Regions from separate parts of the Homo sapiens genome. Here regions 2, 3, 4 and 5 are each linked to region 1. The links are contacts of gene promoters, found by promoter capture Hi-C in human tissues and cell types (Jung and others, 2019). All regions are on one chromosome and are shown on one strand. The core of a region is centred on a gene start or on the middle of the fragment in contact, and the rest is flanking DNA. Distances in the headings are between cores, read along the strand shown. Region 1 holds the start of CCDC169 (coiled-coil domain containing 169). Region 2 overlaps LOC102723490 (a long non-coding RNA gene). Region 3 overlaps LOC102723490 (a long non-coding RNA gene). Region 4 overlaps DCLK1 (doublecortin like kinase 1). Region 5 overlaps DCLK1 (doublecortin like kinase 1).

Evidence for each region. The method cuts DNA at HindIII sites, captures the fragments that hold promoters and counts their contacts. A contact is called where the count stands out against the background at its distance.
Region 2: a fragment that was not itself captured here is called in contact with the fragment with the promoter of CCDC169 in region 1 in 2 of the 25 tissues and cell types used here (H1 embryonic stem cells and spleen).
Region 3: a contact is called between a fragment that was not itself captured here and the fragment with the promoter of CCDC169 in region 1, in 1 of the 25 tissues and cell types used here (mesenchymal stem cells).
Region 4: a contact is called between a fragment that was not itself captured here and the fragment with the promoter of CCDC169 in region 1, in 1 of the 25 tissues and cell types used here (dorsolateral prefrontal cortex).
Region 5: a contact is called between a fragment that was not itself captured here and the fragment with the promoter of CCDC169 in region 1, in 2 of the 25 tissues and cell types used here (adrenal gland and bladder).

What each region holds. Positions count from the first base shown.
Region 1 is chr13:36,294,478-36,299,860 of GRCh38, forward strand. It overlaps CCDC169 (coiled-coil domain containing 169), which reads right to left and starts at 3,337. Exons shown (of 8, transcript NM_001144981.3): 1 at 3,160-3,337; 2 at 1,301-1,380. The coding sequence starts at 3,242. CCDC169-SOHLH2 (CCDC169-SOHLH2 readthrough) reads right to left here and starts at 3,337. Exons shown (of 16, transcript NM_001198910.2): 1 at 3,160-3,337. RefSeq lists enhancers at 2,964-3,925, 3,926-4,888. The HindIII fragment of the contact is 10,512 bases long and covers 1-5,383 here.
Region 2 is chr13:36,783,651-36,789,033 of GRCh38, forward strand. It overlaps LOC102723490 (a long non-coding RNA gene), which reads right to left. Exons shown (of 7, transcript XR_001749825.2): 1 at 5,331-5,383. Among named protein-coding and RNA genes, the nearest start is that of RFXAP, 33 kb to the right of the region's middle. The HindIII fragment of the contact is 4,285 bases long and covers 558-4,842 here.
Region 3 is chr13:36,755,405-36,760,787 of GRCh38, forward strand. All of the region lies in intron 1 of LOC102723490 (a long non-coding RNA gene), which reads right to left. Among named protein-coding and RNA genes, the nearest start is that of RFXAP, 61 kb to the right of the region's middle. The HindIII fragment of the contact is 3,827 bases long and covers 956-4,782 here.
Region 4 is chr13:35,970,375-35,975,757 of GRCh38, forward strand. All of the region lies in intron 3 of DCLK1 (doublecortin like kinase 1), which reads right to left. Among named protein-coding and RNA genes, the nearest start is that of DCLK1, 160 kb to the right of the region's middle. The HindIII fragment of the contact is 6,810 bases long and covers 1-5,383 here.
Region 5 is chr13:35,992,847-35,998,229 of GRCh38, forward strand. All of the region lies in intron 3 of DCLK1 (doublecortin like kinase 1), which reads right to left. Among named protein-coding and RNA genes, the nearest start is that of DCLK1, 140 kb to the right of the region's middle. RefSeq lists an enhancer at 636-1,137. The HindIII fragment of the contact is 4,431 bases long and covers 57-4,487 here.

The sequences.
Region 1 (5,383 bases), core at 2,087-4,586:
AACAAAGCACTGGGTACTTATAGAAAGTGGCATTTTATTTCCCATATGGCCACTATTCCTTTTTGTTCATGGCTCCCCAATTGAGGAAGAGTATAAATGTAGCAGGACGAGCCACAGACAAAACCCCTCAGACACCAAGTTAAAGAAGGTAAGGCTTTATTCGGCCGGGAGCATCAGCAAGACTCACATCTCAAAAAAATGAGCTCCCCGAGTAAGCAATTCCTGTCCCTCTTAAGGGTTTAGAACTCTAAGGGGGTCTGCATGAGAGGGTTGAGATTGATTGAGCAAGCAGGGGGTACGTGACTGGGGGCTCCATGCACCAGTAATTAGAACAGAACAGAACAGGACAGGGATTTTCACAGTGCTTTTCCATACAATGTCTGTAATCTATAGATAACATAACCGATTAGGTTGGGGGTCAATCTTTAACTACCAGGCCCAGGGTGTGGTGCTGGGCTGTCTGCCTGTGGATTTCATTTCTGCCTTTTAGTTTTTATTTCTTCTTTCTCTGGAGGCAGAAATTGGGCATAAGACAATATGAGGGGTGGTCTCCTCCCTTATAAATGCCCACCCTGATAATCCTAATAAAGTCCTCCTGTTCTTTAGCATTCAGTTCAAACAATGCCTGTTCTGGAAAGCCTGTCTTTATTAACTCACCCGAATTCTGTTAGGTTTCCCTTCCCTAAGTTTTCATTTATCCTTACATAGAACTTATATGACTTCTCATATCCATAATCTGATTTGATACTTTCTCCCAATAGTCAATGAACCTCTTTAGAACAGGGAAAACAAAGGTCTTCCATTTAAAGTGTTGACATATGGCAGGGTCATATCTTGCATACATTACAAATTTTAAGGATATATGAGTGTGTAGGTACACAGCATCCTCCACACCAAACACACATTCTTCCAACAACAATAGCTAAAACCTAGATACGGATTTTAAACATATCCCAAACCTAGAAGTTAAGATATAAAGAGTGTAACTTGAGGTGAATAGAAAACTGGTGATATTTATTTAATAAAGAAATAATATATTGATGTCATGTAACAAAGTTTTTGCTAATTAATGAACATTTTGAACTTGAAAGGTAGAAAAATAATTAAATAGTAATAGGTTTGATATTCTGAAGTATCAGTTTTAAAGCCTCTATCATAAACTATCATTAATGTGGCCAAAAAGCAATACTGAAATGTTGGTACTATTATTCAATATATGGAATTTAATGCACCATAGATATCCTGGTAAAATGAACAATAATTATACAGGAGTCACAAATATAAGTATTTACTTATATACCTTCATTGTCAGTATTGAGTTTGGCTTCCAGTTCCGTAATCTTGTGTCTTAGTTCAAATATTGAGAGTTGCACTGCATCCCTGTTATTTAAAATATTTTTGTTGATTATAATTCAATTAAAAATAACATCAGAAAAATAATACATAGTAACCCACTACTACTTCAGGAACAATTTACTATGACACATTATTTACTGAAGGACTGGTTAAGAAATAAGACTCAGGCAAAGGAAGGCTTCCAATTAGTCAGTTCTAGGACTCAAATATGCACTAAAGCTCAAAGACCCCCAGGCAACCATTAGAAATCTTTTATTTATTTTTATTTATTTTTTTGAGACAGAATCTCGCTCTGTCGCCCAGGCTGGAGTGCAGTGGTGCAAACTCGGCTCACTGCAACCTCCGCCTCCCGGGTTCAAGCAATTCTCCTGCCTCAGCCTCCTGAATAGCTGGGATTACAGGCATGCGCCACCAAGCCCTGCTAATTTTTTTGTATTTTTAGAAGAGACAGGGTTTCACCATATTGGCCAGGCTGGTCTCGAACTCCTAACCTTGTGATCCGCCCAGCCTCGGCCTCCCAAAGTGCTGGGATTACAGGCGTGAGCCACCAGGCCCGGCCCTTGGAAATCCTTTATTTTTAACTTAAATATCATCCTAAAGAAGTTAGTTACCTGGTTTTTCAGAACCAAGCAAATTAGGCACTGCACATTATTACAGAAAGGCATACCTAGGGCAATACATAACAGCTGACAAACTGAAACAAAGAGAAAAAAACAAACACTAATTTAAAAGGTTAGCTATTTAGGGCATCAGTAAATAGAACATTATCATATGACAGGGCCATTTATTCAATAAATATTTTTGAGTGCCTATTATGTTCAAGGCATTGTATTAAATACGGAAGAATTCAGTGAACAGTGAACAGAAAAATAGCAATAGCGGCAGCAAAGTTCCACTGGATGCGTATCACAAGCCAATGCTAAGTTCTTTATAGTGCATTTCATTCCAACCTGGGAACAACAGCAGGAGGTATGAGATGACTATTTGTATACCAGTCTTAGAGCTGAGAAAACTGAGGATTAAAGAGGTTAATTAACTTGTCTAAGATTGCATAGTTACTGAGTGACAAGAGATGGAGTTTGTGTTTTTGCAGGACTGTCCTCAAGTACTTGCTCTTATTCTCTACTTCCTCAGAATACACAGAACCTGTCCTCAGAACGCGTGTAGTTTGGTAGCAAAACAAGAAATAGACAGGCAATTAAAATACTGTGACTGGAGCTACAATAGAGGAAAACCCAGAACCCTATCTAGGCACAAAGGAGAGTCCAATTCTCACGGGACTTGTGGATGGAGTTGGGAGTATGTCCAAAAAATACTTTAAATGTTTCAAAAATTTAACACGAAGTACGAATACTGTTTTTAAAAAGCATAAAGGAGGAGTAACAGTTTTACTAAATGTCATTTTATGAAGTTCCCCTTAAAGGGATGAAAGAAAAAAAAAACCCCGTATAACTAAATAAAATCTTTGGAATTTTAAGCAGAAAACCTGGATTTATGGAGACATCAAAACCAAACACAACTTTTGGCATTACAGTATATGGGCAAAATACACGCCATATGATTGGATCCTTAAGGGCAGCACATCCTACCCGGAAAGCTGCCTACTTAACAATACCAAAGGCTTACTCAAAGAGGCACGTGAATCTTTCGCATGGAATACTTTTGGAACCCAGACCGAAGTGCCCAGGGGTTAATCACGGCGCCGGTCTTACAGCACCCTCAGCGGCTTCAGCCCTGAGACTCTGCAGGTGAAGGCTCGGGGGGTGTGGACGGGACCCCACACCGCGCCGCCCGCCGACTCACTTCTTGCGGACTTCTTCCAGCAACTGCTGTTTCAGGCGGTTGGTGCTCACACCGTCGAAGTTGTAGTTTCTCTCTTCCTTCATAGTGTCAGGCCAGAGACCTCCCGCGTCTTTCCCCTCAGCACCTTAGAGCACAAGACATTAAGGGCCACCCAGAAGCCAGTACGGCACGAGGCGGTGAACCCCAACCGCCCCCCGGTCGCACCTCCCGCGCCTGCCCGCAGAGGCACGTGGTGACGTCATAAAGCGATGCCCGCAGGCGGCAGGGGGTGGGGCGAGGGCAGCCGGGGAGACTGGAGAAGCCTACTCTGTGCGGTGGAGCGACCCTGGATAACAGCTCCAGGGACACTCCTTGCTCAAGACGCTGGGGTTAGACGTGCTCCGGCTACACAGCGGAGTGTCAGGGGGCCAAGAATATCCCTCTCCTTTTTCTTCCCTCCTGCTGGCTTTGGTTGCTTTCCTAAACATTGCCCCGGACGGCAAAGTCGGCTTCACTCTTAGCCCTTGTTAGGGAAACGCTGGATCCAAGATTAGCTGCGCCCTTCTTTGCTTCAGTTGAACAAGCACCAGAGTCGCTGATTTGGCAGTGTCGGAGCGGGAGGAACTGGTCTTAAAAAGGTACCTCCTGAACTCGGGAAGACTGCTAACCCTCCAGATTATTGTTTTGCATCTGTGTGCTGTTCATGAACATACCTCAGAGCTGCTCACTGCAACTTGAAATTTCATTATATTTTTAATCACAAAGTTTGCATCCTACCCTTGATACATCTGTGTTTCCTTGACAAAAAGAGACAAACTCTGTAAAATATTTGAAGAGATTTATTCTGAGCCAAATGAGTGACCAATGGCGGGTGACAGCCCTCAGGAGATTCTGAGAACACGTGCCCAAGGTGGTCAGGGTACAGCTTAGTTCTATACATTTTAGGGAGACATGGGACATCAATCAAATGCATGTTAAGATATACACTGGTTCCATCGGGAAAGGCAGGGCAATTGGAAGGGGTGGGGGACGGGGTGGCTTCCAGGTCACAGCTAGATTCAAAGATTTTCTGATTGGCAATTGGTTGAAAAGTTACTGACTAAAGACTTAGGAATGTCTTTAGAGAATAAAGGGGTTGTGGAGACCAAGGTTTTAGTGAGAATGGGATAATTGGTGTGGAAAACACAATTTGGTGTCAGAAGTGTTGTGAATACATAGTTTTCCAATTGAGTTTCTGGATGAGATTAACATTTCAATTGGTAGACTGAGTATAGTACATTGTCTTCCCCAATGTGGGTGGGCCTCAGCCAATCGACCGAAGACAGAATAGAACAAAAAGGCTGACCTCCCAGGAGTAAGAGGGAGCTCCTACAGCCAAACAGCTTGAGCTGGAACACTTTTCCAGCCTTGGGCTCAGACTGGGACTGCACATCAGTTTGCTTGCATCTCCAGCTTGTCAACTGCAGATCCTGAGACTTCTCAGCCTTCATAATTGTACGGGCAAATTCCTTATAATAAATCTTTTATACACACACTCCCTATTGGTTCTGTTTCTGTGAATTACCCTAATATAGGAGGTATGCTTATCAAAATTTTGTCTAGCTGTTAAGTCTGAAAGGGCAACTCACAACCAAGTAAACAGAATAGAATGAAGTGAAAAGGACTAGATTATCTGTTGACAAATCCAAATATACAGAGGATTTCTTTTTTGAGACGGAGTCTCATCTGTCTCCCAGGCTGGAGTGCAGTGGCACAATCTCAGTTTACTGCAAACTCCACTCCTGTGTTAAAGCAATTCTCCTGCCTCAGCCTCCCAAAGTAGCTGGGACTACAGGCACGCACCACCATGCCTGGCTTAATTTTTTTGTGTATTTTTAGTAGAGATGGGGTTTCACCATATTGCTCAGGCTGGTCTTGAACTCCTGACCTCGTGATCCACCCACCTCTGCCTCCCAAAGTGCTGGGATTATAGGCATGAGCCACTGCACCCGACCCAGAGGATTTCTTAAAAAGATCTGTTAGCAGGATCTCACTGTGGGAAATTAGGAGCAAAGGCAAGCAGAAAACAGGTTTGTCAACAACTACAGAAACCACAGATTTGTGTTTCTGGCAGAGATAAAGGACCTGAATTTACCCTCCTGCCTGAAACAACTAAAAAACTAAGAGGAACAAAAAAAGAACATTGAACATCAGGCAATAAGGGAAAACGATCACCAAGAGATGAGACACAAATGAGGCAAGCTCC
Region 2 (5,383 bases), core at 1,450-3,949, 490 kb after region 1:
ATATAACCAGCTAGATCATCTTTTAAGAATGGGAACAAAACAAAGACATCCTCAGATAACCCAGAAAGTTTTCAGCTTACTCTTACTAAAAACTTCCAAAAGGTATACTTTTAAAAAGAGAATATGAGGTGCCAGAAGGGATGATATGAGCAATATTTGAATTTTTAAATTTACTTGTGCATCTTTTCCAACATGTGTATGCATATATGAATTAATATAGTATTTGCTATCATTGTTTCATAGTTGGCAGTGTACTGTGCATACTTATCTTCACCTTGTTCATTTACTGTTGCTTAACATTATAGTCTGGGAATATTTTCATAACAGTATAAAAAGCTAATTCACAAGCACTTTTCAAATCTAATTGTGTTACGTTTGCTCTTGTCCCACTGGGCATAGCTGTTATGTGCCCAAGGTCAGAGTCCATGAAGGAGGAGACTATCCCAGTGTGTGGATAAAGGAAGGCATGAACTATTTAAAAGTCATTGCTGTAACATTCCATTACCTCGTGCAACTCAGATCCCAAGATCCCATGATCTTTGCTTAGATACCTGGGGTTCTGCAGGATTTGGACCAAGAATCTTGGCACACAGCTGCCTCTATTGTTTTTTTCTTCGTTCTGTAAGCATAGAAGCAGCCTAGCCATATTGAAAACATTTCATTCTCTTAACACATAAGGCCCTCACATGGTCATGTTAGAGCCACTGAGGAGATGGACTGTGTCTTACGCTCTTTGAAGCCCTTGAAGAACTGCAGACTGGGTCAGACCTATTGGTAGCAATTTATAATTTTTGGTGAGGATGGCAGAAGGATAAATCACTTAACAATGATGCTAATTAAATAAAAGTGCTTCACCCTTTAAGGATATGAAATCCTTAAAGTGGTGGATAGATAAGCTAGAACTAGATTCCCTTCCCTTCCTAATTTCATGTTAGCATGGGCAAGAAGAGACAGTTTGCTACAGATTTCCAAGGCAGAAGTGAATTTGCAGCCATCTTTTTATGCTCAAAAGGTTGTGTCAGGGAACAAGGTGCTGTGGCAGCTCAGGCACATTGTCTCACCTAGTTGGTGGGGGCAGCAGCTGGGCCACCAGCATCCAGCTCCTACTGGATCCTTCTTCAGCTTCTGCAACCTCTGAGCCAGGTGTATGGTTAGCTCCCTGGCAAAGGGCACTGATACCTCCTTTGGGACACCCTCATCACCAAGGTTGCAGGTTTGGAAGAGGTGAGAGACCAGTGCATGCTCAACTCCTTCCCTGTGGGCTACAGGTTTCAATTCGCATCCATCTTCCCTTTCCAATTACCTGCCCTGTAGATTTCAGGCTCCAGCACCAGATACAGAAACAATACAGACTCACATAGACTGCCTAACCAGCTCCCAAAATTATATAAGGTCAACGTATTTGCTATCTATGGTTGCACAACAAATTACTTCAAAACAACATAAACATTTATTATTTCACACAGTTTCTGTAGGTCAGCAATTTGACAGTGGATTAACTAAATGATTCTAACTCATGGCCTTTCATGAGGTTGCAATCAAAATGCTAGCAGGGGCCAGGAGCGGTGGCTCAAGCCTGTAATCCCAGCACTTTGGGAGGCCGAGGCAGGTGGATCACCTGAGGTCAGGAGTTTGAGACCAGCCTGACCAACATGGCAAAACCCCATCTCTACTAAAAATACAAAAATTAGCCAGGCATGATGGCACGTGCCTGTAATCCCAGCTACTCAGGAGGCTGAAGCAGGAGAATCTCTTCAACCCAGGAGGCAGAGGTTGCAGTGAGCCAAGATCGCACCAATGCACTCCAGCCTGGGCGACAGAGCAAGACTCCATCTCAAGAAAAAAAAAAAAAAAAGATGCTAACAGGGGGTCTGCAAACTTTCTATATAAAGGTCAGATAGCAAATATTTCAGGCTTTGTGGGCCATACAGTCTCTGTTGCAATCATTCAACTCCCTTTATAGTTTGAGAGCAGCCACAGGCAATATGTAAAGAAATGGTCTTGTCCATGCTCCAACAAGCTTTCTTTACAAAAACAGTAGACTGACTGGCCAAGAGAGGGTCATAGTTTGCTGATTCCTGATCTAAAAGTTTAATAGCGGCTGGAGTTAATGTTACTAAAATTTAGTGCAGGCAATTGGCAGAGGTCTACAGTTACTCATCTCTCTTGCTTGAGTGTCCCCACAGCATTGTGGCTGGCTCCTCCTGGAGTGAGTATATTATCCCTTTGATTACTTCTATTGGTCACACAGACCAAGAGCGCTACATTGTGGTAGGGGTTCACACAGGGTGTAGATACACGGAGGTAGGGATCATTGGGTGAGCTGTCTTGAAGACTGGCTTCCATATTTAATTCCCTAAAATAAATGATATTCCTACTGGTTTTACGTCTCTGATCATATCCTGACTGGTACTGGAGCTATAATAGTAGACATTTTAACATGCCAAAAAAACAGTGAATTTGGAAAAATGTTTTATTATATTCCAAGCAAATTCTAAATTAATCTAAATAATATTCATACTAGACATACCTTGTCAAAAGTTAAAATTTCAAGAATATTTATACATTTCTGAAAATATCCAAATAGGGAGGAGGAAAAACAACTTTCTTAAAAAGGGGTAAAATCTCTTTTTTTTTTTAGAGACAGGGTCTTGCCCTGTCACCCAGGCTGGAGTGCAGTGGTGCAATCACAGCTCACTCCAGCCTTGACTTCCTGTGTTCAAGCAATCCTCCCACCTCAGCTTCCTGAGTAACTTGGACTACACGCGTGCATCATCACACCCGGCTAATTTTTTTCATTTTTTTTTTTTGTAGAGACAGGGTCTTGCTATGTTGCCCAGGCTGGCCTCGAACTCCTGAGCTCAAGCAATCCTCCTGCCTCAGCCTCCCAATGTGCTCCAATTATAGGCAGGAGCCACCACACTTGGCCTGCTTCCTCAGACTTCTTTACAACACTGAGTTCCTAAAGATAATGAAAAATATGTAAAGACTTTCAGAGGGGAAGCATAATCAAGAATTTCATTCCCAGCCAAAGTGGTGTTCACGTGTGAAGGCAAAGACTGAGAAAGGAAACTACTCATGGATACGTGGCTGACTGAAGGAATTCAAAATAAAGAACTAAAAAGTAGGAAAGCCAAAATAAATTAAGTATAGAAGCTTACATATAAATAACTCCTGTAAATATAATCACAAAACTCAATGTAAAAACAAAACCATTGAACATAAGGGAACACAGGGTAAAGAAAATGAATAATTACGTGTAAGTAACATGGGTACGCTCCTCTGTTTAACCACAGGAAGCCTGGGAAGTCAGGGAAGAAAGTAATAGAAGTCAAGGCAGAAATCTGCCTCCTGCACAAGGCAGCATAAAAATTATATGTAAGCTAAGGCCTGAAAGAACAGTCGGAGTTGGCCAGGAGAATGGGGGATATTCTGGTGACAACAGCAGAAGCCCACTCTGGCTGAGAAAAATAGAAATCAGTTTATGGGAAAAATGTCAGAAGTTCACGGATGCAGTTAAAGGGCAGGAAGGTTAGATTCAGAACGAGACAGACACAGTGACACAGGAGATGTAATAAGCTTGTCAGGCACTGCCTCCGAGATAATGAGCCCTAACCATGTTTCTGCCTGTGTGTTATTCCTTCTGAGACCCAAAGTCCCTGAAGAGAGAGCCAGATTGAACAAGCTCAGGCCTGTTGCTGGCCAGAGGAAGGCAAGACTGTCCCTGATGGCCCCACAGAGACAGCTCACAGTCCATAGGAGCCACAGGAAGGAAACTGAAATGCTGTTACCCATAGGAGAAGAACGGCTGCTAGGCAACTCCAAAATAGTGAATGCTCACTCCAGGGGGACTGAGGCTGGGGAGGGCAGCAGAAACCTATCACAAAGAGCCTTTAAGTCATGCTAAGAAATGTGGACATTTTTCCAAATGAAAATGGGGCATAAATGAAAGGTTTGGAGCAGGAAAGTAATAGATTTGATTTCCATTTTAGAAAGATGGCTCTGGCAGCAATGTGAAGAGGAAACAGGAGGGGGACTAACTGGAGACTGTTGCAGTAATCCAGGTAGAACAGGATGTGGCCCAACTTATTAACTATGGACTGCAGAAAAACACGTGCAGTCTGTCTAGAGAGAATAAAGCAACATAGAACCAACAGATTTTGGTAACTGAGTTACCAATCTTATTATGATTAGATTATTCATCATCATCATCATCATAAGCAATAATAACGTAATAACAGTAAACAACAAATAAGAAACAATTTGATAATGGAAAACTGTGTTCCCCCTTCTCCAAATAATTGATGTGCTATGTGCGATCCATTAATGAGAACTATGTAACCCATCATTTGGCTCACAACCAAATTTGCATCTGATTCACATCAGCAGTGTGGACTCTTGTCTTCTGTGATCTTTTTTTCCTTGATCCTGACTTTTTCCATCTGTATTTATTTTACTGTTACGCTGTGTACGTATCCTTTTTTGGTAAAGTGTCCTAAAAAAACTCAGAACTACAAAATAAACAAACAAAAACTCATCATGCCCATATCCTCAATCAAAACCATTTCCCTGTCTTCATAATTTGCTAATGGCTCCACCATTTCCCTTGTACCTGGAGCTTGGAAACCTCAAGTATCAGAACCACTCCCTCTTGCCTGTCCTCCGTTGCCCACATTCAGATCTTCTGTACATGAAAAAGTTTTTGAATCAGTGCCCTACTTTTCATCTTTCCTTGCTTTGAGTGAAATCTCCCTTTTCCTCTTGCTTAAACCTTCCACCAGCTTCCTAACAGTCTCTCCTTGCCCTCTGACTACGCACCACTGCCAAGTTAAATTCCAATTATATTACTTTTCTGCTTTAAAACTCCGATGATTCACCAATGCTAATAAATTAGGCATTGGCCAGTGGCATATGCCTGTAATCCCAGCACTTTGGGAGGCCAAGGTGGGTGGATCACCTGAGGTCAGGAGTTTGAGACCAGCCTGGCCAACATGGCAAAACCCCGTCTCTACTAAAAATACAAAACTTAGCCAGGCGTGGTGGCACACTCCTGTAATCCCAGCTACTCGGGAGGCCGAGGCAGGAGAATCGCTTGAACCCAGGAGGCAGAGGTTGCAGTGAGCCGAGATCGTGCCACTGCACTGCAGCTGGGGTGAAAAGAGTGAAACTCCATCTCAACATAAATAAATAAATAAATAAATAAGGCATAAACCCTCCCTTCTGTATTAAAGATTTTCTCTCAGAAGATTATAATATGAAAAAGCTAGGAACACTTTTAGAATCCCCTAAATTGAGTACACATATCAGGTCTACTTTTCTTCACTTCATACCTTTTTCCAGGTTCCAGGTACATCCCTGGGTGTCTTAGTCCATTTTCTGCTGC
Region 3 (5,383 bases), core at 1,619-4,118, 460 kb after region 1:
AGAAAAAGAAAGAAGGGAGGGTGAGTGCAAGCATCTTAGGCTGCGGTGCAATTCTAAGGGAAGTTTGGCAGGGTCATTGGAAAGTTCCCAAGCTAAAGTCTCCTGTCTCTTAGGAACAGACCTGCTTTAGTATCTCTGCTCTGTTCAGTCACTGAGAGCAGGCAGAAGGAAGCATGGTCTCTACGGTGTTGCATATTTTCAGATCATCAAGTCAGACTGTTAGCCAGACATGGCGGCAACCCACCAGATGACAGAACTGGCACACATAAAAGGGGGCTGGACCAGGTCCAAAATTATGAGTAAATTACCATTAACTGCTGATCAGACTGCATACGAACTACTTCTACTGCACCAGCGCCTCACCTTCAACCCATGGGTTTCTGCTGACCAACTCACAGAGGAAGAAAAGGCAAGCCTGGCTCACAGGTACAGAGTACTATGCTGGTGTGCTAAAAATTGACAGTTGTTGTATTATATCCTCAGTTGTAAGAGACCCTGAAAGATGTTCTGGTGAGATGACCCTGAATGGTCTCCTCATCTAGCCCATTGCTTGTGCAATGGGTCCATGAACAGAGTGGCCAAGATGGAAGGAATGAAGACCAGCCTGGGCCTAATAACCAGGGCTTCTTGGCATTATGGCCACTTAGCAGTGGCCAGTGTGCCAACTGAAGGGACTGAAGCTGTGCCCTCAACCCCACACCATTCTTTGAGGTATCTGCCAACTACCTACCTAGTGGCAAGTCAATTATATCAGGCCACTTACACACTGGAGCGGACAGTGAGCATTAATTCATTCTGAAATTGATACATACTCTGAATGTTGGATTGCCTTTCCTAGCTGCAGTGTCTCTATTAGCACCCCCGCCAAAGCACTTATAGAATGCTTTATCATTCAACATGTTTTCCACACAGTGTTCCCTTCAGCGGTGCAATTTTCTACAGCAAAGGTGCTGCAAAAATGGACTTCAGACCAGGAAACTCCCTAATAATACCATGTATGCCATCATCTGGAAACAGTCAGCCCATAAAATGATGAACAGCCTGTTGAAGGCTCAGCTGTGGGTCTGACGTCTTGCAGCGTCTGACACCTTTGTTGTCTTTGAGGAGTGACATATGGACTAAATCAACAGCTGATAATATAGTACTTTACCTCCAATACTAAGAATATTAGGTCCAGGAAGCGAGGGAAGTAGAAGTGACCCCACCTCACCATCAAACACAAGGGCCCATTTACAGCAATTGTGTTTCTCCTCCCTACAATCTAAGATCCTGCCCAATTAGAGGTCCTGGTTCTCAGGGAAAGAACACGTCTGCCAGTGTATCTAAGAGTTGCATTGAACTTGAACTTGTGACTACCACCTGTTCACTTTGGGCTTTCATGATAGTAGTTCAACTGGCAAGGAAATGATTTGCTGTTTTATTGAAATAATTAAGGAGTTGGTGTTACCACCACAGAATGGAGTCACAGAGGATGACGACTGAAACCACCTAGGGGAATCACCGGGTCTCTCTCAGTACTTCCATGCCCCCTGATAATGGTGAATGGAAAAATGCAGCAATCACAGCCTAAAATATACAGGACAAATAAAGCATCAGACCACTTGAAGTTCTGAATCACTGCACCAGGAAAGCAAATTAGACCACCTGAGAGTTGTCTAATGCAGGAAATACAGAATGGGTAATAGAGGAGAGAAGGTATAAATGCCAATTAGAGTCTCAGGACCAGTCCCAATGCAGAAATTGTAGCTTATTTCACTATCTTGCCTTAAGTATTTTAGGAAATCACAACTAGTAACTATCTTGAGGAGACTCTGTGACTGACTGACTGACTTGTACCTCCCCTCTTTGAGAAGCAATGAGACTGATGTGATCTTTACAAATTACATGAATGCATTAAATAATCACAAGTACCCCAAAACTATGTACTCTACTATACATCAGTTTAAAATATATGGTAGGCTCTTTTTTTATTTATTTATTTATTTAGATGGACTCTGGCTCTGTTGCCCAGGCTGGAGTGCAGTGGCAGTATCTCTGCTCACTGTGACCTCCTCCTCCCGGGTTCAAGTGATTGTTCTGCCTCAGCCTCCTGAGTAGCTGGGATTACAGGCACACACTACCACACTCAGCTAATTTTTGGATTTTTAGTAGAAATGGGGTTTCACCATGTTGACCAGGCTGGTCTCGACCACCTGACCTCAAGGGATTTGCCCATCTCAGCCTCCCAAAGTGCTGGGATTACAGGTGGGAGCCACCACACCCAGCCAAAAAAATATAGTAGACTCTTTTACAATACTTTGCAACAGAATAGAGAATAATCTTTTGAATGACACAGGTCTTTTTGGCTATTTGTGGCAATGTATGCTGAATATTTGCTTAGTATAAAGGCATTATATATATTTATTATACAATACATCATGCTCCAAATGTGCTGTCTTTGTCTGTGATGACAAGTGTTTGGAAGATGTTTTCAAATATAGAAACACCCTTAATCACTTCCTTCAGGGTAAAGCCACCATTTTAATAATGAATGAGAAAATAACTGCTTGTTGGAAGAATCAAACTATGGGGAGAATATTTTGAAAAATGGATGTGTGGAATTATTTCCATCATTGTATGATCATACAACTGAAAATAATGTATGCCACCTGTAACAACTCTCCTATATGATTGCTTCTTAAAAGTTGAAAATAAATGTTTCAAACCAGTTTTTAAATCTTCCACATATGGAATTTCAGTGAGTCTGGACCCATCTGTAAAAATATATCAAATGCTGGTCCTTTTGATGACTTTGTACAAACAACTGATGGATATCAGGGAAGATGGACACCAACCAGATATTCTGCTAGAACCTGGAGATTTTTCTTAACATCTATCCTGTTCTTCTCAAGCTTTCCTAATTCTGTCCTAATTCTGTCTTCTCTGTAGAAAAGACAGCAATATAATGGACAGTCTATACTCTGCTCTTATAAGCTCAAGTAATTTTAGTACAAATTCCAAGGACAGAAATAAAGAGATTAGTCTAAGTTTAAACTCTGCTACTAATTAGCCATGTGCCAAGCAAGTCATTCTGGTGAGAGGGGGTTCAAGTTCTGTCACTAAACAATCATGACATTGTATGACTTCACAGCAGCTGCCAAATTTGCAAATGCAAGATGGGACTGCTGCCAACTGATAAGCCCACTTCAGAGAAGGCAGCAGGAAAACCCATGCCACCTTTCCAAAGAACGCAAAAGGAGCTACATTCATATGACCCTCCCTTGACATTTGGGGGTAGAAGAGAAGGAGGGTCTGTCCCTGTGTGTCACACCACTCAGGAGTGATGGTCAGGCTCAAGGAAGTGTCTTTGGATTTGCTGAGCCACAATCCAAAGCCTAATTATGATGCATTACAATAATCAAACTCTTTTTTGCCTGTTTGGTTTTCTTCCCCAAGTCTCTATGTTTAGGATCTTATTTGAATTGAAATCTTTGGAATTAAATGTTATAGACAGTGATACATACAATATGGGATAGTTCTTGTAAAATATAATGAACTGTAAAACCTTGTCATGATTTCAGCTTAAAATATTATTCTATGCCAGGGCAAATGTCAAAGACAATCATCTCCTTTTATTAAGCATTACCTAGAAGATGGATAATATTTAATATGTGTGATGACAAATCTACAAAGAAAAAGAAACACCAAAAGACTGTTCTCAGACTCTGTGATGTTCCACTGTTTAAACACACAGATATCTGTGATATCACAATGTTTAAACAAAATAAAATACCATTTCATATGTAAAGCAAGAATGCTAATCTCCAGATATAGAAGTTATAGGAATTCTTCCTTAAAAAAAAGAAGGTATTCCAAAAGTAAATTCTTATATTAATATTAATTCATTTACTTTTAAAAAGTCAATGTCAGCAGCTGTGCTTGCTAAGATACAAAATTTAAAACCACAGCGAGGAGATAAAATGTAATGGGAATGAATGGGAAAACCCTTGTTTGCCAATATTTTAAAGTCTCCTCTCTAGAAAGTAACTTCCTGGAGGCAGAACTATATTGCTTTTACTCATTTTTGCATCCCCAGAACTTTTCAACCACGCCTGGGACATAATAGTTATTTTATAAGTACTTGTTCAATGGATAAATAAATGAATGAAGTTAGGCAGCCATTAAATTTATTTCAAAGGGGAATTACCAAAAGCAGGCCACACAATTGTTTAGTGACAGAGATAAACTCGCTTTCAATGGAATGATTTGCTTGGCATATGGCTAGTTAGTAGCAGAGTTTAAGTTTATACTAATCTCTTCATTTCTGTCCTCTGGAATTTGTACTAAAATTACCTGGGCTGGCTGGGTGCCGTGACTCATGCCTGCAATCTCAGTACTTTGGGAGGCCAAGGTGGGTGGATCACTTGAGGTCAGGAGTTCAAGACCAGCCTGGCCAACATGGCAAAACCCTGTCTCTACTAAAAATAAAAATTAAAAAATTAGCTGGGCCTGGTGGTACACACCTGTAATCCCACCTACTTGGGAGGCTGAGGCATGAGAATCGCTTGAAACTGGGAAGCAGAGGTTGCAGTGAGCCAAGATCACACCACTGCATTCCAGCCTGGGCAACAGAGCGAGGTTATCTCAAAACAAAAACAAACAAACAAAATTACCTGAGCGTACAAGAGCAGAGATTGTCCTTATACTGCTGTGATGAGCTCTTCTCTAGCTACCTTCCAACAGCTGCAATAGGAAATAGGAAAGCCAAGGTTGAACACCTCAAGCTTCTTAAGCCCACCAGGAAGAAAAGAAGAGGGCAAAGCTTAAATGGAAGAGGGAGCAGATATTGGAAGAGGAAGGAAGAGGAGGAGAGGGGTCCAAGATCATTCTAATGTGACGAGAGGATTGGACACAAGTTTCACAATTTGCTTCATTTCCTTTGAATTAATGTTCTCTGGGACCCTTCTCAGTACTAACTTTCAATACCAAAGAACTAAATAAAATCCTAAATGTCAAAAAAAACCTAATTGTTTTCTACAGACAATGTCTATCATATGATTGAGCCTAAAGGAGATGCACAGCTTAAACACCAAGCTGAAAATAACATCCCATATGAATTAGGTGTTTTTCTTTTTCCCAACTACATACTTCTTGACTAACAGATATAGTACATTCCACATCTTACTGAAAAGACTAGATGATTTTTACTTTACTGGAAAAAAATTAAACGAAAGTTTCAATTTTTATTCAAAGGCATGTGAGGGGGGAAGGAAACCAATTGTAAAACACAGATAATATTTAAACCTTAAAGAAAATTGGAATATTTTATTTGTTTTTCAATAAATTATAAAAAGAGATGATTTAATGAGAAAGCAGTTGTTAGTACACATGGTAGAAAAGCAAT
Region 4 (5,383 bases), core at 845-3,344, 330 kb before region 1:
ATATTTTGCCAAAAGAATAAAAATGGTTAATCCTACTGTTTGAATGTTTGTCCCCTCCAAAACTCATGTTGAAATTTAATCACCAATGTATCAATATTGGGAGGTGGGGCCTCTAAGAGGTGATTAGGCCGTGATGGTTCAACCCTCATGGGTGTGTTTAATGCATTCATAAAAGGACTATTGGCGGTGGGCTCTCTTTCTCGGCTCTTTGCTCTTCTGCCATGTGAAGAATAGTGTTCCTCCTTCTGGAGGATGCAGCCTTTAAGGTGCCATCCTGGGAGTGGAAACTGGACCCTTACCAGACACCTAACCTGCAGCCACCTTGATCTTGGACTTCTCAACCTCCAGAACTATGATACACAAATTTCTATTCTTTATAAATTACTCAGCCTCGGGTATTCTGTTATAGCAGCATAAAATGAACTAAGACAATTAATTTCACAGATATCTTGTGGGGAGAATTGGTGAGGTCAAAAGCAGAAAGAGTAGCCTCATTTCAGTGCCCTAAATGTTAATCACCAGCCTCAGTTAGCACACGGGGCAGTGGCAGAACAGAGATGAGACTGGGCTACCTATGAACAGCCAGGGCCATGGAAGCAGCAAAGGGCCCATGGAGTAACAGAGAAACAAGCTACAAATTTGTTAGGGTAACATACTTGACAGGCAAGAGCAGATGCCCCAGGAATACACTCAGTTCTGTTAAAAAGAAAAGTGAGTTAAACCCAGCTCTTTAGCACTGTATAGCTCAAACAACCAACTGAAGTTATAAGATTTCCACTCTTCCACAAGTGACTGTGCTATGTCAGGGTAGTCTGTTATCAGGATACCATTTTCTTGAATAATTTTTGCCAATGAAGTAGGCAGAGAATGATTGATTGGCTTCAATGTAACTGAAGCACTGAAAAAGAAGAAAAGAATTAAAAGGGCTTTCTCTGGACCCCGCACAAGAGCTCTGCCATTTGGAACAACACATGCATGCTAGTTCCCATTTTAGGTTGAAGGACATGACACCGAAGCTAAGACTTAGAGCTTGATGACACTCCCCTGAGAAATGATGAGATACAAGAAGACAGGAAGATGCGTGCTTTCATCAAAAGTCCACAGTAGGCCAGGTGCAGTGGCTCACGCTTGTAATCCCAGCACTTTGGGAGGCTGAGGCGAGTGGATCACCTGAGGTCGGGAGTTCGAGACCAGCCTGGCCAACATGGTGAAAACCTGTCTCTACTGAAAATACAAAAATTAGCCAGGCATGGTGATGGATGCCTGTAATCTCAGCAATGTGGGAGACTGAAGCAGAAGAATCTCTTGAACCTGGGAGGCAGATGTTGCAGTGAGCCAAGATTGTGCCACTGCACTCCAGCCTGGGCAACAAGAGTGAAACTCCATCTCAAAAAAAAAAAAAAAATTCCATAGTAAAGGCACTCTCCCTGTTAATGCTGGGCCCTGGAGCTGCTAACGCACCTCTGGGATGAAATCCCATCCCTGGACCTCGGTTGTTTTTATTGTTGTTGTTGTTTGCACAAGGACAGGGAGCAAGTTACAAATAATTCCTGTCTTCTACCAGCTAATAATCCTATCTTGGACTTCCTTTCTACGTCTAGACTAAATCCTTCCAATTCTTCATTAACTGCACTCCCAGGAGCTTCTCCTTTTCCAACTGCTGACTTAAAATTCACACTCATTGATTGGTGACCACAGACTTGGATACCTATCCTTGTCCCACAGCTCAACCATTTCCGTGGCTCAGCACCAGCATACCTCCAACTGGTCCTATTTACCACCTAGACATTTCTCTCCTCCTCCTTCCTCTGAGGTCCTTTCTGTGGCTCTCAAACATCTTTCAGCAAGTTCTTTCCTCATGTAGATTCTTAATCAACCATTTGACAGGTAGCCTTTATTTTTTTTTTAAGATGGGGTGTCGCTATGCAATCATAGCTCACTGCAGCTTTGACCTCTTGGGCTCAAGCAATCCTCCTGCCTCAGCCTTGACATGAGATCTTGACTGCTTACTAAGTGCTCAGCTCATGTGTGTGTAGAGAAAGAGACATACAAACAGAGAAGCTCACTACCTCAGAGCTACACACATAGTATCCAATAACTATTTGCTTATCAATTTATGATAAATATTTAAGATGGGGAGTCTGATTACAAACATTCCTGAAAGCTCCGGAGGTATTCTGCATTGATATGTGGAGTCAACAGAGGTTGCCACACAGAGAGAAGTGACAAGGAGCAAGTGGCATGTTAGAGAGGTAGCAAGGAGATGGGGTGGGGGGCAGCACTGAGACAGAGTGGGAAGGAAGCATGATGAATACTGCAGTGAGGTGGACTCAAAAGATGGCTAGAGTGGAAAAACAAAGGACCTTTGAACCTAATTTGATGTAAGAAATGAGGAAAAGGGAGGCCCCATCCCATAGACCATCATGGCTCAAGCACACCCTGTATCCTGTATCCTGATGACACGCAGCCTCCTGGTGCAGTCCTGACCTTTCTCTCTCATCTCCTCTGTCCACTGCATCTCACCAGTCACAAAACTCCCAGTCCTCATGCTGTACAAATGCATTATTATTATTCCCACATCCCCATGCCTGCTCTTCCTCCTGTCCTTTGCTGACATCACTAATAACCCACTTGCCTGAGTCAGCACCCAGTACATTCTGGGGCCCACAGCAGAGGAGCTTCCACGAAGACAGAGAAAGAAAGATGGAGAAAGGAATGAGGATGGCAGGTGAGGGTGGGGCTAAGGGAGGAGAGGCAGAAGGAGGGGAGGTGGTCCATTAGATAAAGAACACACTGCGTTCTCCAGGTCACTTAGTGGGGGTCCAGTGGAACCCCCATGAAATCCTTTCAATGGCGAGGCACATGCAGAGGTCAGTGAGCTGAGGAGCAAAGGGGAGGAAAGAAAATACCACCCACTTGGAGGATCCCAGGCCTCCTGCTTATAGGCTTTTGCCCCTCCTGGGAAGACCTCCCCTTGCTCATGGCCCATCTAATTTTCAGGACTCAGAGCAGGGCCCTCTTCTGGGAAGCTCTCCCCTGCACCTCGCACCTCGGTCTATGCCTTGATTGGGCCAGATGTGCCTAAGTCCTCCTATAGGGCCCACTGGGCTCCTCTCTAACAAGGCATGCCACACACCTCATTATATTACAATGATCTGTTTTCTTCTCTGGTCTTGGGACTATGAATACACATCTTTAGATTCCAAATGCCTAGCCCAGTGCTGGCAAAAAGAAGGTGCTCAACAAATGAATGAATAAATGAATGAATGACAAAAAGAAGAGAACAGAATGTAGGCTTTTCCTTCAAAAGCTCCAATGAGAAAAGGCAAAAAAGAGAGAGCTCAGCTGCTGGAAGGACAGGCAGGGTCAAGGAACGGGGAACCTGATCCTGCAGACAGGTTAAGGATGGAGAAGATGGCAGAAAACTGAAGATGTGAGGAAGAGGGAGCAGGGGCTGGCTCATGGTCCTGGAGGAGGTCAGAGCACAGAGGAGTGAGGATGAACCTGGAGCAGGGACAGAGAAACCCCCCTTTCTGAGACTGGCAGGAAAGGGATGATGTCAGTGAGGTTTGGGGCAAAGGAGAGGGAAGAACATTCTGTAAGTTGAATAAGTTTATGCCCTGGTACCTCATTTTTCTGCAAAAAAATACAGGAGGAAGGGTCATTTACTAAGTAGCAAATAGACATATAAAAATAGAAATAGAAAATAAAACAAATAAAACAAAATGACAAAAGTTTAGAATAACTGCCCAGGAAAAAGTAACTAACATTCGTTGAGCATTTGTTATTTGCTAGAGATCACAGGCCTAATTGAGCCCCCCTCAGATTCATGTGTTGAATTCCTAACCCCGAGTACTTGAGAATGTGACTGCATTTGAAGAGAGGACCTTGACACAGATGATTACTTTAAAATGAGGTCAGTGGGGTGGGATGTAATCTGATCTTGCTACTGTCCTTACACAAAGAGGGAATTTGGTCACAGACAGATGCAGAGGGAAGACCGTGTAAGGACACAAGGGGAGGGTGTCCCACCTGCAAGCCTAGGAGAGAGGCTGATATGATTTAGCTCTATGTCCCCACCCAAGTCTCATGTCGAATTGTAATCCCCAATTTTGGAGGAGGGACATGGTGAGGTAATTGGATCTTGGGGGCGGATATCCCCCTTGCTGTTCTCGTGATAGTGAGTTCTCATGAGATCTGGTTGTTTGAAAGTGTGTAACGCTTCCCCTCTTGCTCTCTCTCTCCTGCTGGCCATGTAAAGTGTACCTGCTTCCCTTTCACCTTCTGCCATGGTTGTAAGTTTTCTGAGACCTCCCCAGAAGCAGAAGCTTGTACAGCTCACAGAATCATGAGCCAACTAAACCTCTTCATAAATTACCCAGTCTCAGGTATGTCTTTATAGAAGTGTAAGAACAAACTAATATAGAGGCCTCAGATGGAACCAACCCTGCCAACACCTTGATCTCAGACTTCTGACCTCTAGCCCTGTAAGAAAATAAATATTTGTTGTTTAAGCCACCCAGTATGTGGTACTTTGTTATGGAGGCCCTAGAAAATGAACATACCAGGAATGGTGCTAAGAACTTCAGCTCAATGATCTCATTTCAGTCAACAGCCCTTTGAGGCAGGTGCCATTTCCATGCTTAGTGTGCTGTGAAAAAAGTGAGGGCAGAGCTTGTGTAAGGTCCCCAAGGGCACAACACCTGTGCACAACTGTAAACACTACATGACCAAAGACTAGGTCAGGTCTTACACCAATCCATCCATGCTGCAGAAACAGCACCACTGAGCTGCCTAGATCCAGGAGCAGGAGGGCAGGTGCAGCCTGTGGTGTGGGCGAGGCAGAGGACACAGTGTGAGGGACCAGTAGGCTTGGGCAGGAAAAAACACTTATGACCTGTTCTGGAGAACCAGAGATGAGTCTCACCTTTGCCACTGAAAAGAAGAAAAGGGGGTCTGACCTGCATCAGGCTGGAGACCTCATTTCATGGCACCATCTAGCTGGTCACGGTGCCAACCTGGGGTGCCAGAAACACAAGGGCAACAAGGTGCAGGGAGGCGACACTGAGGGTCCACTCCCTGTTCCTGGACAAGTCCCCACCACACAGCCCACGAAGGACGCTATCCTCTTCCACCAGCTCCAAGGTGAGATCAAGGGGCTGGAGGCCACCCCACCCCCACCCCACTTGCTACCAGAGTTCTGGCAGCATGACTTTGTATAAAACGGCTCAGAAACTGGAGACAAAAGGAGGAGGCACGACTGTGCCCTGAGCACGGGGATGAGTTTTCCCTAGGAAATCTTGGGTTGGGGCATCATACAGATCTGCTCAGGCTTCCTCCCTTGATTCCTTCATGGCTCTGCCCTAACTCACCTGAAATCACC
Region 5 (5,383 bases), core at 1,022-3,521, 300 kb before region 1:
CATTCATTCCTTTATTTTAATTCTACCACCTTTATGAACTGCACTGATATACTACTCCCCCATCAGTGATCTCCAGTCTCTAATCGATTATACACATGAAGCTACTGCTCTGAAGCCCTGGATATCTTCTCCTTATTTAATGGATTAAATCCAAATTCAGGCATTCAAGATTTTCACATCCTGGTCCTTTTGCTGTTTCTGCAGCCTTGCCTGCAATGTCTCCCTGATGTAATATGTGGGTCCAGCACAATTGCTTGCTCAGCCTCCTACGCACTGTCATATGCATCTGCTTCTGTGATACAGTTGCTCAAGCTGCTCTGCTCTCTTTTATCTAAGACCTACTCTCCTTTCAAGACCAACTCAACTCTCACTTCCTCCCGAAAGCTTTCTCTGCTGTCCCTGCCTTCGATCAATCACCTCTCCTACATGACGCTCCAGCAACAAGTAACCTCAAAACTACTGACTGAACACTTAGCACAGCCTACCTTGCATTCTTCTTTGTCTCTTTCATGCCTCAGTTCTGTCTCTCCAGGTAGACCTTAAACTCATCAAGAGCAAGGATCTTTTCTTATAATTTTTCTTATAATTTTCTTTCCTCCAACAGCCACCAAAATCTGCTGACAGAAGGCAGGAGGCAGCATAAAATACAGGAAAAGCACTGGACGTAGCATGATTTGTCTTAGACTTGCCACTTACTATCTGTGAAACTTGGGGAAAGGTTTACCTCTCATCCTCAGTTTCCGCATCTACACATTGGGGGATGAGGATGAAACCAGTACCTGCCGTGCCTTCATTACCAAGTGGTTGTGAGAATCAGGTAAAGTGAGTGTGTTCTGAATTACAAAGATTTACATACATGAGGAATTAGTTAACATTTTTTTGATGATGGTAATAACATCATCAAAGACATCTAGCCACAACTTAATCAGAACTACCTATCATATGGTGCTTCAGAGAATTCAAATTCAATTCCTTTCTCTGAACACTCATGAGAAAAAAAAAAAAAAGCTAGGATAAGTATCAGCCTTGAGGCTCCCATATTTCATTTCCTCTCTTCAAAGCCAAAGTCTTTAAAGACCTGAGTGTGGAATATGAAAGGCAGGAGTGAGGGAAAGTGACCAGTTAACATCTCTAGTCCTTCCAGCGTTTCAGACTCTTTCAAGTACTTTTCTCTCATCTGCAAAACATCCTTTTGAGATACTGGAACCAATACTATGAGCCCTTTGAAAAAAAGAAAAGGGGAAAAGTAACATGCAGCTTCCAAAAAAAAAAAAAAATCTAACATTTAGCAGGAGTAGGTTGGGGCATGGTGATTTTGGAATCAGTCACACTTTACAATTCCAGCTTCAGGCTTGACTGAAGTGTTCCAGGTGGGCAGCTCTTCTAGAACTTTCCCTGTAGCAGAAGTCTGTTCACTGATGGATGTTTGTGGCAGGAGCCAAGCGAATTAGTCAGATAAAATATAAGCGTGAAAACAGGAAAGTGGTTCTCCTGAAGTTTCTTTTCTAGCTGTAAGCTTCCACACCACAGAATAGTCAATCACATTACAGCCCACAAGAAAAACCTGAAAGAATCATGTTCAGCTGACCTCAAACCACATATTCTTAGCTAATAAAACATCCTTGCATCAGGTCTCAAGAACACAAACTCAAAGCTAATATAAGATAGCAATTCTGCAAGACAGTTTGCCCCTGGTAATTATACTAAAAATAAAAAAAAGGCAGCCAACTGGTGAGGTTGTCTGTTCTTTTTAGAAAAGATATTTCATGTTCCCTCAAGCTTCATTATCAGTGATTGGCTTGGATGAATGGGCGGCTTCCAACAGCTTTTACCCAAGGCCAGGCTTGACAAATGTGGCATGATTTTGGCAGTGCTCGGGCTCTGATTCAGTCTTCAAATGTCTGGCATGGAACATGAACTTCTGAACCTGACCTAAAGCTATTATGGGCTTTAAATTTTCAAGCAATTGCATCATTAAGCAACCAGCATGCGATGGCATTACTATCTTATCCACTGCCTAAATACCACAATGCATTTAAAGGAAGTTGACATAAATCAGCAATGAAAGGCACAGATGACGGCAATAAGAAATGGCCCATCATTAAGGTTCATTCAAAAGCATACAGGTTGGAACTGCAGCACATTCAATTTTAAAATGCAGATATGACACAAATTCAGAAAGCTATGAAGAGCAATTTGTGAATTTTCACCAAATAGCATATGCTCTGAGAAATTTTTGTCTAAGTGTTCTCCAAGGTAGCTTTGTAGTGGTGGAGTTTCTTCCTTTTCTTTCTTAAACCTCTGCTCCAAGAAGAGACAAAGCATCCACATTCAATTATAAGAGTTTTCTTTTTCACCTCAAATTACCAATATTCCCTCATCTTTTCCAATATCATATTGTAAAGATACAATCCAAATGCCTGTGTCTACAAGGATTCAGTGGAGGAAATGACTTAACATTTGAGTGAACTAAGTTCACTTTATTACGAAATCTAATTCTATCCGTTTTCAATATACTAGTTAGTATGGGGCAATATTTTTAATGGGCCACACCAAAATATAATAAAAGGAATGTAAACAGATCAGAGGACAAAGACAAGGAAACCAATCTGGTAGTTTTATTAGCAAAACCAGAAAGAATAAGAACATTTTACTTTCATATAAATGTTCCTTTGTCTTCTTTCATTTTTACTGAGGCCAATTCAAATGTTGAGGAACAATCTGGGAGGCTCTTCAGTTTCAATGATGATTAACAGAAAATTACCATTCTGAATGGAAATTTCACCTCTTCCCAACTCATTAGAATACACTGGCTTTTCTGACTAAATCACAGGTGAGCAAATAATAGAAGACTGCTTATTTTTAGCAGCAGGCTGTGAGAGACAACCTCAAAAAAGATAAACTAACCCACGTACGTGAGATCACACGTTTTTACCATAAATCTTTGTTTCCTGGCTGTTCTTATAAATGCAAATCTAGCAGAAATGTTACAAACATAAGCAATAAGATTACAACAGTTTTCCTAAAATATCTTCTATATTAGGCTTTACTTAAGGCCAACAATATTTTCATCTATTTTAATTTTATTATTTCTTTTTTTTAATTTTTTGAGATGGAGTTTCATTCACTCTTGTTGCCCAGGCTGGAGTTAAATATTATGCAATCTCCGCCTCCCAGGTTCAAGTGATTCTCCTGCCTCAGCCTCCCAAGCATCTGGGATTACAGGTGCCCACCACCACGCCCAGTTAATTTTTGTATTTTTAGTAGAGACGGGGCTTCACCATGTTGGTCATGCTGGTTGCAAACTCCTGACCTCAGGGGATCTACCCGCCTCGGCCTCCCAAAATGCTAAGATTCTAGGCGTAAGCCACTGCACCCTGCCAACCTATTTTAGTTGTAAATAAAATCATCAGTGCTTTAAGAAGGAGAGATAGATTAAGGCCTCCCGTCTTCATCATTCGCTTCAGTGTGCTGGTATTGCAAACAGCACCATGTGCAATGCCCATTCCCACTTGAGGTGGTCAATTTTATGTGTCAACTTGGCTGGGCCACGGGGCCCAGGTATGTAGTCAAGCACTATTCTGCACATTTCTTTGAGGGTGTTTTTAGATGAGATTAACATTTAAATTGCTAAATTTGAGCAAAGCAGACTGCCCTCTGTAATGCAGGTGGGCCTCATCTATTGGTTGACAGCTTGAATAGAACAAAAGGCTGACCTCCACAAGCAGGAGGCCATTCTAGCAGATTTGAACTGCAACATCAGCTCTTCCTGAGTCTCCAGCTTGCCAGCCCTCCCTGAGTATTTTGAACTTGCCTGTCTCGATGTTCACGTGAGTTCCTTAAAACAAATCTCTTTCCATATATATATATACACACAACCTATTGGTTCTGTTTCTATGGAGAACCCTGATTAATACACCACTTATCTGAAGGGTATTATCCACTCTGTGCATCATCTTTTATACATGCTTTGCTTTCATCCATATGGACAGCATAACTTTATTTTTGCCCATTTAATACTGAGAGTGAGCATTCGACCTGTTGGCCACAAAGCTATAGCTATTTACTCAGAGCTTCTATTTTTAACACTCTGATTCCTGTGTTATTTATTTTACATGCAGTGAAGCCCTTTAAAGCCCCTTAACCACTTCCCTACATCTGCATGCAGGAACAGTCTCCTCCTGCTAGAAACAGAGTTTAATGATGTTTGAGTTGAAGGTAGGATGGAAAAAGCCAATTAGTTTCCAGAATGGCTCCTTTCTCTTGGGGCTACACCTTGTGGTTTGAAATTAAATCCAATATCAGCCTCATCCATACACAAATGCAAAGCCAAGGCTAGCCCACTTTGGATAATCTCGTGATCTTCTCCACTGAACATGAGCATGTATTGTCTGGATCAAGTTCTTTTTAATGATGAGGAAATATGAGATTTATTACTAATGAAGATAGGCCCCAATCCAACTAAAACCTAGGCAGATATGATTATCTTTAATTTCTTTTCTCATCTCTCATTTTAAGGGGAAAATCATCGTAGAGCAGAAATCTCAAAAACTTGCTTTGGAGGCAAAGAACATTTTCCCTCTCTTGGCTTTTTCCAGTGTGAATGGAACACGCATGGCTCTAATTTCACAGGTTAATTTCATTCTGACAATGGAAAACAGTTAAACAGCCAATCACATGTTTACATCTATCAATAGTTTTTAATACCGATGATCATGAGGTGGTGTTGGCCTGATTAGTTCAGTCCTAACCTAAAAATGACTGATTGCTAATGAAAACATTCTTTCTCATACAGAACATTCCAACTATGGTTGTAAGTCATGAAACTTGCAATGTAATAGTCTTTAAATCAGATATAAAAGAACTTCCCCCCAAACCAAAACTAAGCAAAAAACCAACCAAACAGCAAAGTATGCTTCTCATGGATTAACTACTGGCAATTGCTTTGTTCCATTATACAGAAATGTTTTGACTAACCAGAATGCATAGGTCCTGGGGTGTTTTGGGTAGCTTGGTGTAGCAATCTGAAGTTTAGCATTTTTGATTCCAGCTTATTACTGATATTTAATATAAAGCACAACCAGTCTACTTTCCCACTAAGTGTGGTCAGCAGTTTCCCATGTTCTGATTGCTGATCCAGACCATTGTTGGAGTGGCATCATCACTCGATCAATTCTTCTTTTGACATGCTGAGCTCCACTCCCACCTTCCTCAGTGGCTTTAGTTACTGACCCCCTTTTGAGTATTTTAGTGTCCCTTCAACTGCCCTAAAATTTTAACATAATTTTTTAAATTCTGAATAAAATTAAGAAGTATAAGAAAGTGTAGGAGTCTTAGAAGAAAAATTGACTCACAACGTCCTTAAGATAAAGTACAAAACTAC